Regions from separate parts of the Homo sapiens genome. Here regions 1, 2 and 3 are each linked to region 4. Evidence: promoter capture Hi-C in 16 types of primary human blood cells and fetal thymus (Javierre and others, 2016). All regions are on one chromosome and are shown on one strand. The core of a region is centred on a gene start or on the middle of the fragment in contact, and the rest is flanking DNA. Distances in the headings are between cores, read along the strand shown. Region 1 holds the start of OR10K1 (olfactory receptor family 10 subfamily K member 1). Region 2 holds the start of OR10T2 (olfactory receptor family 10 subfamily T member 2). Region 3 holds the start of CD1B (CD1b molecule). Region 4 holds the start of AIM2 (absent in melanoma 2).

Evidence for each region. Contacts are between HindIII fragments. The CHiCAGO score rates a contact against its expected background, and 5 or more counts as called.
Region 1: the fragment with the promoter of OR10K1 here is called in contact with a fragment that was not itself captured in region 4 in 1 of 17 cell types (erythroblasts); the score reaches 6.2 in erythroblasts.
Region 2: a contact is called between the fragment with the promoter of OR10T2 here and a fragment that was not itself captured in region 4, in 4 of 17 cell types (fetal thymus, naive B cells, total B cells and 1 more). The highest score is 9.5, in fetal thymus.
Region 3: a contact is called between the fragment with the promoter of CD1B here and a fragment that was not itself captured in region 4, in 10 of 17 cell types (M2 macrophages, M1 macrophages, fetal thymus and 7 more). The highest score is 13.7, in M2 macrophages.

The regions. Positions count from the first base shown.
Region 1 is chr1:158,460,417-158,463,184 of GRCh38, reverse strand. It overlaps OR10K1 (olfactory receptor family 10 subfamily K member 1), which reads right to left and starts at 1,351. Exons shown (of 2, transcript NM_001004473.2): 1 at 1,281-1,351. It overlaps LOC107985212 (a long non-coding RNA gene), which reads left to right and starts at 414. Exons shown (of 2, transcript XR_001738256.3): 1 at 414-1,014; 2 at 1,435-2,768. The HindIII fragment of the contact is 25,948 bases long and covers 1-2,768 here.
Region 2 is chr1:158,398,203-158,401,016 of GRCh38, reverse strand. It overlaps OR10T2 (olfactory receptor family 10 subfamily T member 2), which reads left to right and starts at 1,551. Exons shown (of 1, transcript NM_001004475.1): 1 at 1,551-2,495. The coding sequence starts at 1,551. The coding sequence ends at 2,495. The HindIII fragment of the contact is 4,820 bases long and covers 1-2,814 here.
Region 3 is chr1:158,330,148-158,332,893 of GRCh38, reverse strand. CD1B (CD1b molecule) reads left to right here and starts at 1,363. Exons shown (of 6, transcript NM_001764.3): 1 at 1,363-1,531; 2 at 1,832-2,098. The coding sequence starts at 1,471. The HindIII fragment of the contact is 309 bases long and covers 1,102-1,410 here.
Region 4 is chr1:159,074,111-159,076,871 of GRCh38, reverse strand. AIM2 (absent in melanoma 2) reads left to right here and starts at 106. Exons shown (of 6, transcript NM_004833.3): 1 at 106-239. The HindIII fragment of the contact is 734 bases long and covers 987-1,720 here.

The DNA of each region.
Region 1 (2,768 bases), core at 102-2,601, 610 kb after region 4:
AGGTCTAGTCTTCTGTGACTTTAGATGAAGTATATACCTTCAATATTTAGTTTTTTTTTTAATTAAAGGGATAGCATAAACAGTAATGGAATAAACTGTTGGGATATGTGGAAGGCACTGAAGCAGAGGATCCCTGAACATTTTACAGAGGAATTTTGACTAAGATAGTATCGGAGTACTATGACCCCTAGGAGCCTTTCTTGCTCAGAGAATCAAAGACTCTCTAGTTAGATGATCTCAAAATCCCCTTAATTGTGATATTTTAGAACGTATGAATAGAATTCAGGCTATGATCCTTGGAGATGCTACTTCAGTGTTTTATTTTTCTAATTCCTCAGATGCTCCACTGGGATTTTATGTAATCTGGATTTAAATAGAAACAAAGTACTTGAGGGTGCTGGGTTCCCCCAAAAGAAGGCAATCTACAGAGTTTTCACGTGTAAAACTTTTAAGAAATATAAATATTTATTTTAAGGAAAACATCAATCAGTTAGCTGAGAGAAATTATGTAAGCAGCTTCAGATAATAAAGGAGTGAAATTTTAACTTCTTAGATACAAATAAAAATCTTTAATTTCTCCAGATTGCCATATTAAAATGGAGTTTAAGTACTAGATTTCAATTATACCTAAAATTATACATCCAGGAGTACACAGCAGAAACAGAAGTAGAAGAGTGAGAGATGAGAGACAAGTGGAGTATCTGTTTCATTTAATCCATGAATCCACCAATGAACAAAAAAGAGAAGTAGAGGAGGAAGGAAGGAAGGAAAGAAGGAAGGGAGGAAGGAAGTAAGGAAGAAAGGAAGGAAGGAAGGAAAAGAAAAAAGAAAATAAAATCTAGCTATGAGTAAGAATGACCCAATATGATCTTCAAGAACAATTCAGATAATTTTTTTTTTTTTTTCAGAAGGAGTCTCACTCTGTTTCCCAGGCTGGAATGCAATGGCACGGTCTCGGCTCACTGCAACTTCTGCCTCCCAGGTTCAAGAAATTCTCCTGCCTCAGCCTCCCAGGTAGCTGGGATTACAGGTGCACGCAACCATGCCTGGCTAATTTTTTTATTTTTAGTAGAGACGGGGTTTCATCATGTTGGCCAGGTTGGTCTCAAACTCCTGACCTCAGGTGATTCACCCATCTTGTCCTCTCAAAGTGTTGGGATTGCAGGGGTGAGCCACTACACCCAGCCAAATTCTGAGAATTATAAAGGCCATTCCCAGTCACTCTTAGTAAGTTCAGTGAAAGGTAGCCTCTGATTCTCCTTTTTAACTCTGCTACTTACCAGAAATGCCATCACTGATCTCCATGGGAGGCACAGAAAGAGGCTTTCTCAAACACTACCCATCATTCAAGTCCAGTCCCCACAAATCCCCAAGCTAGGTCAATGTTCCCACTGCTCGGTAAGTACTTACATTGCTCTCTCCCTTCTAATTTAGAGAGAAGCAGCTATTCAGTATTTGGCAGTCTCCTGACAAGTAGCACCACTGCCACAAATCAGAGCCTGAGGAAATAACAGCAAATGAGAGGGAAGCTGCCTTGAGATAGAAACTCTCATCTGAATCAACAGAGCTAGCCTCCTCCATCTATCAGGACTCCCAGCTTCTCCAGATAAGTCACCATCTTCAGAAGTTCTGATGACCAACGTGGGATGTGGTTATTAGAAGCATGTACTGTAAACACTGGACTCCTGAGGTTAGATCTACTGCACTGGAGCTGTTGTCTTGGGGTTAATTAGGAGTCAAGTTCATTTTGGAAAAAATAATGTCACCAGTTTCTCAAAGGTGGCCTCAGTTGAGGAGCCTGGGGAGTTGAAGTCATGAGCATAATTAGCCCATGTATGCTTTGAAAGTTGAGTCCATTTGAAAGTTGTGATGGATTCTGAAGGAGAGCCCACCACAATTAAGACTGTAATGCAACAGACCAAGTGGAAAATTTTTACTGAATTTTAATCAGAAGACTGATGTATTTGTCCAATGACACTCAACTTCAGTGTTTCTAAGAATCAAAAGAGGGTTGAATGATGTTTTCCAGGGCGCTGCCCCTAGAAACTCTAATTAAGAACATTGAGATGTTTTGCAAAAACCTAAAATTTTAGTAAGTATACTAAATCTAGTTGAGCTCTGTCATCAAACAGTGTGTTATCTTATTAATGCATTTTACCAGAATGACAAAATAATATAGAGTTGTGAATTTTGTTCAAGCTAATCTATAAAGCCAATATAATTCCAACCCAAATCCATGCATAAATTTTGAAGTCACCCTGACAATCAGATTTCCAAAATTTTCATGAAATTATAAAACAATTTTGTAAAGGGCAAGTAATATAGGCCCTCACTCTTCCTAGTAAAAAAAAACTATGCTTTAGTAATAAAAAAGAGCATGCTATTGGTGCAAGAAGAAATAAGTAGTATAGAGACAGAAAGGAGAGCTCAGAAATTAATGTATGTGTATTTGAGAACTTGGTCTTTGGCAGAAGTGACCTCACAAGTCAGTGAGAGAATTATAATTATGTACTAAATAATACTGGGAAGCCTCTGTGTATTCCACCGCTCAGAAGGAGGTGACCTGGTGGAATATGAAACGGTTTACTTGAGGCTCAGTTACTGCACTGGCTCTGTGCCAATACCTAGTACAGCCCCATGTGTCTGCCCAAAGCAGAATATACTCTGAACCAGCAGCCAAAGGATTGTGTTCATTCTCTACTAACAAGAATGTATAAGTCTGAGAACCGACGTTTAAGGGGAGATGAAATGAATCCTTCTGTTATTAC
Region 2 (2,814 bases), core at 302-2,801, 680 kb after region 4:
GAAAAAGCTGTTGTAGCAGGTGTGTGGAACTACCTAAGCAAATAAACCACAACAGAGATGATGAACAATGAACAAACTCAAGTGTGTCATGTCAAACAACTCCTAACATCTTATAGCCATTAAAGTAGCCAACAAGTTGGGAGATGTTGAGTTGTGCAAATATTACATCTGGTTTCTCCTGAATCTCTGAAGCTGATTCTGAAAGTAAAAATGATTAGGGCTCTGGGAGGAGGAATAACCTAGACTATAAAATAATGGGAAGTTCCTGAGATAGGCTCTTCTCTTTCCATTTAGCACTTTCTGGCTATTTTATTTGCAAGAGATTCAAGGTGTGTTCACGTTATTTCCTCTCCTTTCTTCAATAGAGAGAAGACTTAACCTAAGTCTTCCTGCTCCACCCCTATCCCTAGTGATCATCAATCTATTTTGTTTCATAGACAGATACATCATAACCTTGTGACCCAGGTTTTACACTTGGGTCCCTTCACAGTTCCAGAAACATACAGAACAAATGTCATAGAATCATGAAAGAGAATTCAAAGGCTATAGACTCCTTAGATAAAAAAGGGCAGATTTATTAAAGAACCCTGATTTAATCATCCCACAATGTATACATGTATCCAAACATCACATAATACCCCATAAATAGGTATAATTATTAGTTGCTAATAAAAAATAAATTAAAAAGAAAATAATTTTTAATGTAAAAGTAACAGTTCTTTCTTTAACTGTGCATATTTAAATTTTTGCTCAATTTTAAAAAAAGAATCTCAAGGATAAGAACACTTGAGTCAAATGCAGGGAAACTCTGTCCTGATTTAAGGATCCAGGCTCTTCTAGTGTTCAAATATCAAACCAGGATATTTGCCTCTCAACTCCTTAACTGCATAAGCAGCTGACACATAGATTGGAGTTACTATGTGTTAAGTGCTGTTTCAAGTACTTTACTGATACCATCTAAGTTCTTACAACAATCCTATATAATATGTTCTATTATTATTTATGTCTTACAAATGACAAAAATTGTCACACTGAAGTTCATAGCTCTAAGTGGCAAAGGCAAGTTTCAAACTCTAGCATTCTTGTTCCTGAGTTCATGCTCTGAGGCACAGTGTTTTAATGCCTTTACAATAATGCTAATTAAATGGATTGTGATATTAGGAAAAGAAACCAAATTACTAGGATAGAATATACATCCAAGGACCAAATACATACAGTACAAGAAAAATAATTTAAATTTTCTATTCCATATTAAAGGTAATGTTCTTCTTAAACTGAGAGAATTTTTTCACTTTGTCAAATAGTTGGATCCTTTTAACTTTGGGGTATTTATATACTGTAGATAATCATTTCTCTGTTACTTCAGATTAATAATTTTTTGGAAAAATCATTAAAGAGGCATCTATATCTAGATAGACTAAGAGAAAGAGATGTTAACATTATGAATCTGACAATATACTTAAAGTGAAGGCGTTGGGAAAATGTTCGTATTACAAAGATAGTTATCATTTTGTCTCTTTCAAACACATTCACAGAAAGAAGTTCTTCAGATGCGAGGTTTCAACAAAACCACTGTGGTTACACAGTTCATCCTGGTGGGTTTCTCCAGCCTGGGGGAGCTCCAGCTGCTGCTTTTTGTCATCTTTCTTCTCCTATACTTGACAATCCTGGTGGCCAATGTGACCATCATGGCCGTTATTCGCTTCAGCTGGACTCTCCACACTCCCATGTATGGCTTTCTATTCATCCTTTCATTTTCTGAGTCCTGCTACACTTTTGTCATCATCCCTCAGCTGCTGGTCCACCTGCTCTCAGACACCAAGACCATCTCCTTCATGGCCTGTGCCACCCAGCTGTTCTTTTTCCTTGGCTTTGCTTGCACCAACTGCCTCCTCATTGCTGTGATGGGATATGATCGCTATGTAGCAATTTGTCACCCTCTGAGGTACACACTCATCATAAACAAAAGGCTGGGGTTGGAGTTGATTTCTCTCTCAGGAGCCACAGGTTTCTTTATTGCTTTGGTGGCCACCAACCTCATTTGTGACATGCGTTTTTGTGGCCCCAACAGGGTTAACCACTATTTCTGTGACATGGCACCTGTTATCAAGTTAGCCTGCACTGACACCCATGTGAAAGAGCTGGCTTTATTTAGCCTCAGCATCCTGGTAATTATGGTGCCTTTTCTGTTAATTCTCATATCCTATGGCTTCATAGTTAACACCATCCTGAAGATCCCCTCAGCTGAGGGCAAGAAGGCCTTTGTCACCTGTGCCTCACATCTCACTGTGGTCTTTGTCCACTATGGCTGTGCCTCTATCATCTATCTGCGGCCCAAGTCCAAGTCTGCCTCAGACAAGGATCAGTTGGTGGCAGTGACCTACACAGTGGTTACTCCCTTACTTAATCCTCTTGTCTACAGTCTGAGGAACAAAGAGGTAAAAACTGCATTGAAAAGAGTTCTTGGAATGCCTGTGGCAACCAAGATGAGCTAACAAAAAATAATAATAAAATTAACTAGGATAGTCACAGAAGAAATCAAAGGCATAAAATTTTCTGACCTTTAATGCATGTCTCAGACAGTGTTTCCAAGGATTAAGACTACTCTTGCCTTTTTATTTTCTCCTATTCCAAAAAGAAAAAAAATGCAAGTCAATCTACACTCTATATTGTCCGATGTCTAGTTAAAAAAAAAGAATTCACACTTGGCAAAAAGAGAAAAGCATGAGAGTTTTTCAAGGAAAGACACAACCAAAACAAATATAAGGACAAGAATTGCTTTTCCAGTTGGAGAGACAGAACAGAGTCTGAAGT
Region 3 (2,746 bases), core at 114-2,613, 740 kb after region 4:
TGTTGTCTATGGCTGTTATCCAAAAAGTAGATTCAATTCTGTCATGTATTGGAGTCTGGGAATGTTGTTAAGAGATACATACATTGAAATTTGGAGAGCTGCTCTGTATTTATCAATTAGGCAGTAATAATCTTGGATGAAGGCTAGTCTTATTAATGTTGTGAACCAGTCTTATTAATGTTGTGAACCAGTAGTGTCCCCAGGAATAGAGAACACTACACTACTCACTTTGCATTTTCTTATCCACATAATAGAATTAGTTAGTGATAACCCTCTTTACTCGGAATCGATTGCTGCCACATTTCTGCATGATACATAGATCTCTGCAAATATGTGATTTTTTTCCTAAATGGAGAAAATCCAAAAATTCTTCTTAAAATTTTTCATGGGCATACAAGAAGATAGGAGGTGACATCTTAAAACAAGTATCTCTGAACTTTTTGTATAAAAAAAAGCAACCTCTTTGCTCTATTATTAATACCACATGTGGTGATATGAATGCCCAAATGTAGACAGCAGTTATGAGATATTACAAGAGAAGAAAAAAGCTCTGCCGCTTATGGCAACTTACCCAAAAAGTTATCTTTGACTTAGGCTGGAGGTGCACATAGCATAGCTCCTAGAGTTCTGTTTATGTCATGAATATTTGTTACTCAAAACTCCATAGGCCAAGAGCTCCTGAAGAGAAGGTCACATGCTAGCAGCAATTGTCATTTTTTCCCTCAAATATTGCTATAGTATAATTTTGTTTGAATTATAAACTTCAGTCTTTATTATATTTGATTCTGGCATTTTGGTTTGTAGTGCTATAGTACAGGAAATGTTTTAAATGCTTTGCCTTTATGTAAGTGAATATCGGTACACACACATACACATACACACACAGACACAGACACACACACACACACACTCACAGCCAGTTTAGAATGTGGGGTAAGGAACACCAGACAAAGAGGGCAATATAAGAAAGAGAAGACATTGAAAACATTGGGAAGAGGCAGTAACAGAGTGCCAGAGAAGATAAGGCAGCTGGGAGGGGGAGAAACTAAGTGAGGTGGATAAACTAAAAGCATCCTTCTGGGTTAAAGCAGACTAAAAGCTTAGCAATTGCTTAATATCACCATCTTATCCTATAGATGTGGGAATAAAGGCTAAGGAAGGAGAAATGAAAATGCAGAATCATATGGGGGCTTTTCCAAGGAGGTATGAAGGAAGGTGAGGACAGGGAGAGCGGCTGGAAGTCAGGGGGTAAGAGAAACTCTAAAAATCAGGGCTTGAGGGAAATAAAAGGTGAGGTAAGAGGCTCAGGGCTGTGGGAGGCACATTTTTCTCTGAAAAGCAGTTTGGATGAGGAAGAGATTTGGCAGTTGGAAGAGAGAAGAAGTCACTACAGGGTACTGAGGAAAAGCTTTGCTGAAATTGGAGATCAAATACCAGCTCTGCCAGTAAGAAGTTGCATCTCCCAGTGAAATGCTGCTGCTGCCATTTCAACTGTTAGCTGTTCTCTTTCCTGGTGGTAACAGTGAACATGGTAAGAGTCACTCTGGCAGCTCCCAGCACTGGTGCAGGGGTTTGGATTTTAAAAAGCAAGCAGGGCTTTCCTAGGTGCAATTGGACACTAAGGGTCTGGGTCTTTCTGTCTCCCGCCCTCTTCAACCATTCTGGTGGTTGGGACTAGAACCTGAAGCCTTAAGGCAGTCAAATGTGTCAGACTTCCTGTGTTCTTTAGACTCTAGGTTCTTGTTTTCTAAATCATTTTCATTCCCATTCTTCCTAATTGTCTCCTGCTTCTCTCTTTATCTTCACCATCTTGCTTTTCCACTCTTCACAGCCTTCCAGGGGCCGACCTCCTTTCATGTTATCCAGACCTCGTCCTTTACCAATAGTACCTGGGCACAAACTCAAGGCTCAGGCTGGTTGGATGATTTGCAGATTCATGGCTGGGATAGCGACTCAGGCACTGCCATATTCCTGAAGCCTTGGTCTAAAGGTAACTTTAGTGATAAGGAGGTTGCTGAGTTAGAGGAGATATTCCGAGTCTACATCTTTGGATTCGCTCGAGAAGTACAAGACTTTGCCGGTGATTTCCAGATGAAATGTGAGTCTAGTCCACCGAACTGGGAAGAGTCTCAAGGACTCTCTTTTCTCTCTTTTTTGCAAAGTGTTGCTCTCTCTGATGCTTCTCCCTTCCTTTCTATTTTACCCAAATGCACGCACATGCTTTTCTTGAGTAGTCTCTCACTCCAGCTTCACACCATCACACCTCATATTTCAGATTCTTGCTGCCTCTGCACTCTTCTCTTACTCTCAGACTGTCTTCCACTTTGTAACCAGCTGCTGGTTTGTCTTATGTGAAACTTCTCCTCAAGGGCCCTTACTTCTCCTACCCTGTGCCTGAGTGATCTAACGTGTGGCTTTCTCCCCTAATCCATCTTTTCAATCATCTCCTCCCCGCACCCTCCTCTTGCTGGGAACCTCCACTCACTCTGGAATGCTGCACTCCTGACTGCACCACGCTCTGCCTCACCTCTCCTTTCATACTCACTGTACTCCTTTATCACATACCTTTGTCTTCATGGCATGCACATTTTTCTCAATGCTCTTGTTTCTGAAAATGTCTAAATGTTATCATTAGTTTTTAGCTCATCATCATTTTACACCAAATAACTTTATCCCCACCAAAATCTAAAATCCTAGGTTCTTTTCTCATGCCTTTTTTTCTTATTTGTGTTTAATAACTTGCTCT
Region 4 (2,761 bases), core at 104-2,603:
GAACCCAAACCAGCTCAGCCAATTAGAGCTCCAGTTGTCACTCCTACCCACACTGGGCCTGGGGGTGAAGGGAAGTGTTTATTAGGGGTACATGTGAAGCCGTCCAGAAGTGTCAGAGTCTTTGTAGCTTTGAAAGTCACCTAGGTTATTTGGGCATGCTCTCCTGAGTCCTCTGCTAGTTAAGCTCTCTGAAAAGAAGGTGGCAGACCCGGTTTGCTGATCGCCCCAGGGATCAGGAGGTAAGCACCATAGAGGAGCTGGGTTAGAGACGAGAGACTTAACCGTTTCTCTGCTGAAAAAGACAACTGAGGAAAGGCCAGCCATGCTGTGCACACCTCTGAGAACCTGAACCTGCAAACATGGACATCAGCTCTGAAAGGATGGGTTCATTTCTCTTTTATTCACTTTAGCCATGTCCTCTGGTGTCTCTGAGCTGGTGTTCCTTAAGCTTCGGCTTCCTTTGGGGTTTGTCTATCAGCCTATTTGTAAGGCTGACTTTTATGCCAATAGCAAATACAAGCATTTTTTAAGTTAACAGATATTATGAAGTAAAATGCAAGTTTTTCATTTATAAGGCAACATAACTTCAGAGAAAAAACTGAGTCAATCACATAAAATGTGATTAAAATGTGATTGTTATTATATAAGAGGGTTATAGGAAGATTAGCTTCTTATGGACAAGTAGAAAAGTAGGAATCATCCAAGCTGATTGTCACAGTAGATATTCAACAAAGGTAGTGTCCTTCCTTGCTTTCATCAGTAGGATGGGGGCATTTGGATGGCTTTATCATTGCAAATATTTTTAATGTATTCCTTATTTTGAAAATGGTCCTGATAATAGTTTTAATTTTCACTCATGAACTCTACATGTATAAGTAGAGTTTCTCCAGCGCTTACCAACATATAGGAAAAAACATTATAAGGCCATTAACAGTGATAGTTTAGAATTTATTAACATTGACTCTACTGATGGGGGTATTCAAGCTTCCCTAAAATTCACAATCAGTTATTTTCAGCTCATAAACATCTTTTCCTGTTCTTTGGCTTATTTCTTCCACTTTATATGTTGCTGCTCTGGAAGTCATTAATTGCTAATAATGTCAAACATCTTTTTTATGTTTATTGGATATTTGAGCAAATTGCTCATTCACATCTTTTGCACACTTTTCAAATAGACTGTTGTTTTCTTATTGATACATGGTTCTCCATGTATTCCAAAAGCAAAACCTCTATTAGCTCTCTCTCTCTCTCTCTCTCTCTATATATATATATATAGCAGGTATAGCCATATATATATGTGTGTGTGTGTGTGTGTGTGTGTGTGTGTGTGTGTGTGTATTGCAGGTATCTGCCCAGTTTTTGCCTTGTATAATCACTTTGTTTAGTGTGTGTGTGTGCACGGATGTGTGTGTTTCCTACAAAGAAATTGAGAATATGCATGCAATCACATTTGACAAATTTTTTTTTTCTGGCTTGTCCTTTTTGTGCCTTATTTAAGGAACCTCCTTCTACTTCAATGTATTGAGAAATTCTGTGTTTTATTCAACATCATTACTATTCTATTTAGATAATTAATCCAACCAGATATATATTTTGTGTATGATATAAGAGAAAGGCTGAATATATCATTCCCTGTGTATTGTCATTTGTCTGAACACTTTTTATAGTTGGCCATTCTTTCCTTGTGATTTTTAATGCCACTTTGATTATATACCAAGCTTTAATTTACATGTGGTCCTGTTTCCACACTCTATTTATTAGTTCATTTTTTTCTACGCCACTGCCATACTGATTTAATAATTATACATTTGTAGTAAGTATTGATACCTAGTAGTAGGGATAGTACATCCTGATAAACATATTCAACTTGTTTTGCAGGTTTTTGTCTTTATTTTTTTCATTTAGGTTTTAGGATCATTCTGATAAATTCTATGAAAAACCCTTTGAGATTTTGGATAGGAGTTTATAGATTAATTTGACAACACTGCTGTCTTCATTTTATCAAATCTTCCCATTTAAAATATCAGACATACACCCACTTAAGTAGGTCCTTTAAATCTCCCAATAAAGTTTTATAAGTTTCCCTTTAAAACTCTTAAATATATTGTATTCGATGTTCTTATGTACTTTGTAGTTTTGTTGCTATTGGAAATTACTTTTTTTATGTAATTTTTTTCTCTCTTGGAGTGGTACTAAAATAAAGGAATGCATTTCTGTATATTAATCTTATAGTTATAAACTGTTGAATTATTATTTATAATGTTTTGTGTATTATTTTGGATACTATACATAAACAACTATATTACTACAACGTGATTTTGGCAACAAGTTACAAAAATAGGTTGATGGACAGAATAAAGAATCCAGAAATAGACTCACTCATATTTGGACAACTGATTTTTGCAAAGGTAAAAAAAAAAATCATTAAAAATGACAGTCTTTTTAACATATGATTCTGGGAAAATTCATATTCATATGAAAAATAAATGAACTTTGAATCATCACTTATATCATATACAAATTAACTCAAAGCAGTACATACAGCCAAATGTGAAATGATCAAACCGTAAAATTCTTACAGGAAGACATAAAATCTTCTAATCTTGAGATTGGAAAAGATTTCTTAAATAAGACACTGAAAGCATGATCCATGAAAGAACAGATTGATTAATTGCACTTCATCAGGTATATGTATATGCCAAAATTTATCAGATTGTATACTTCCAGTGTATGCACCGTGTTGTATGCCAGTTATGCCTCG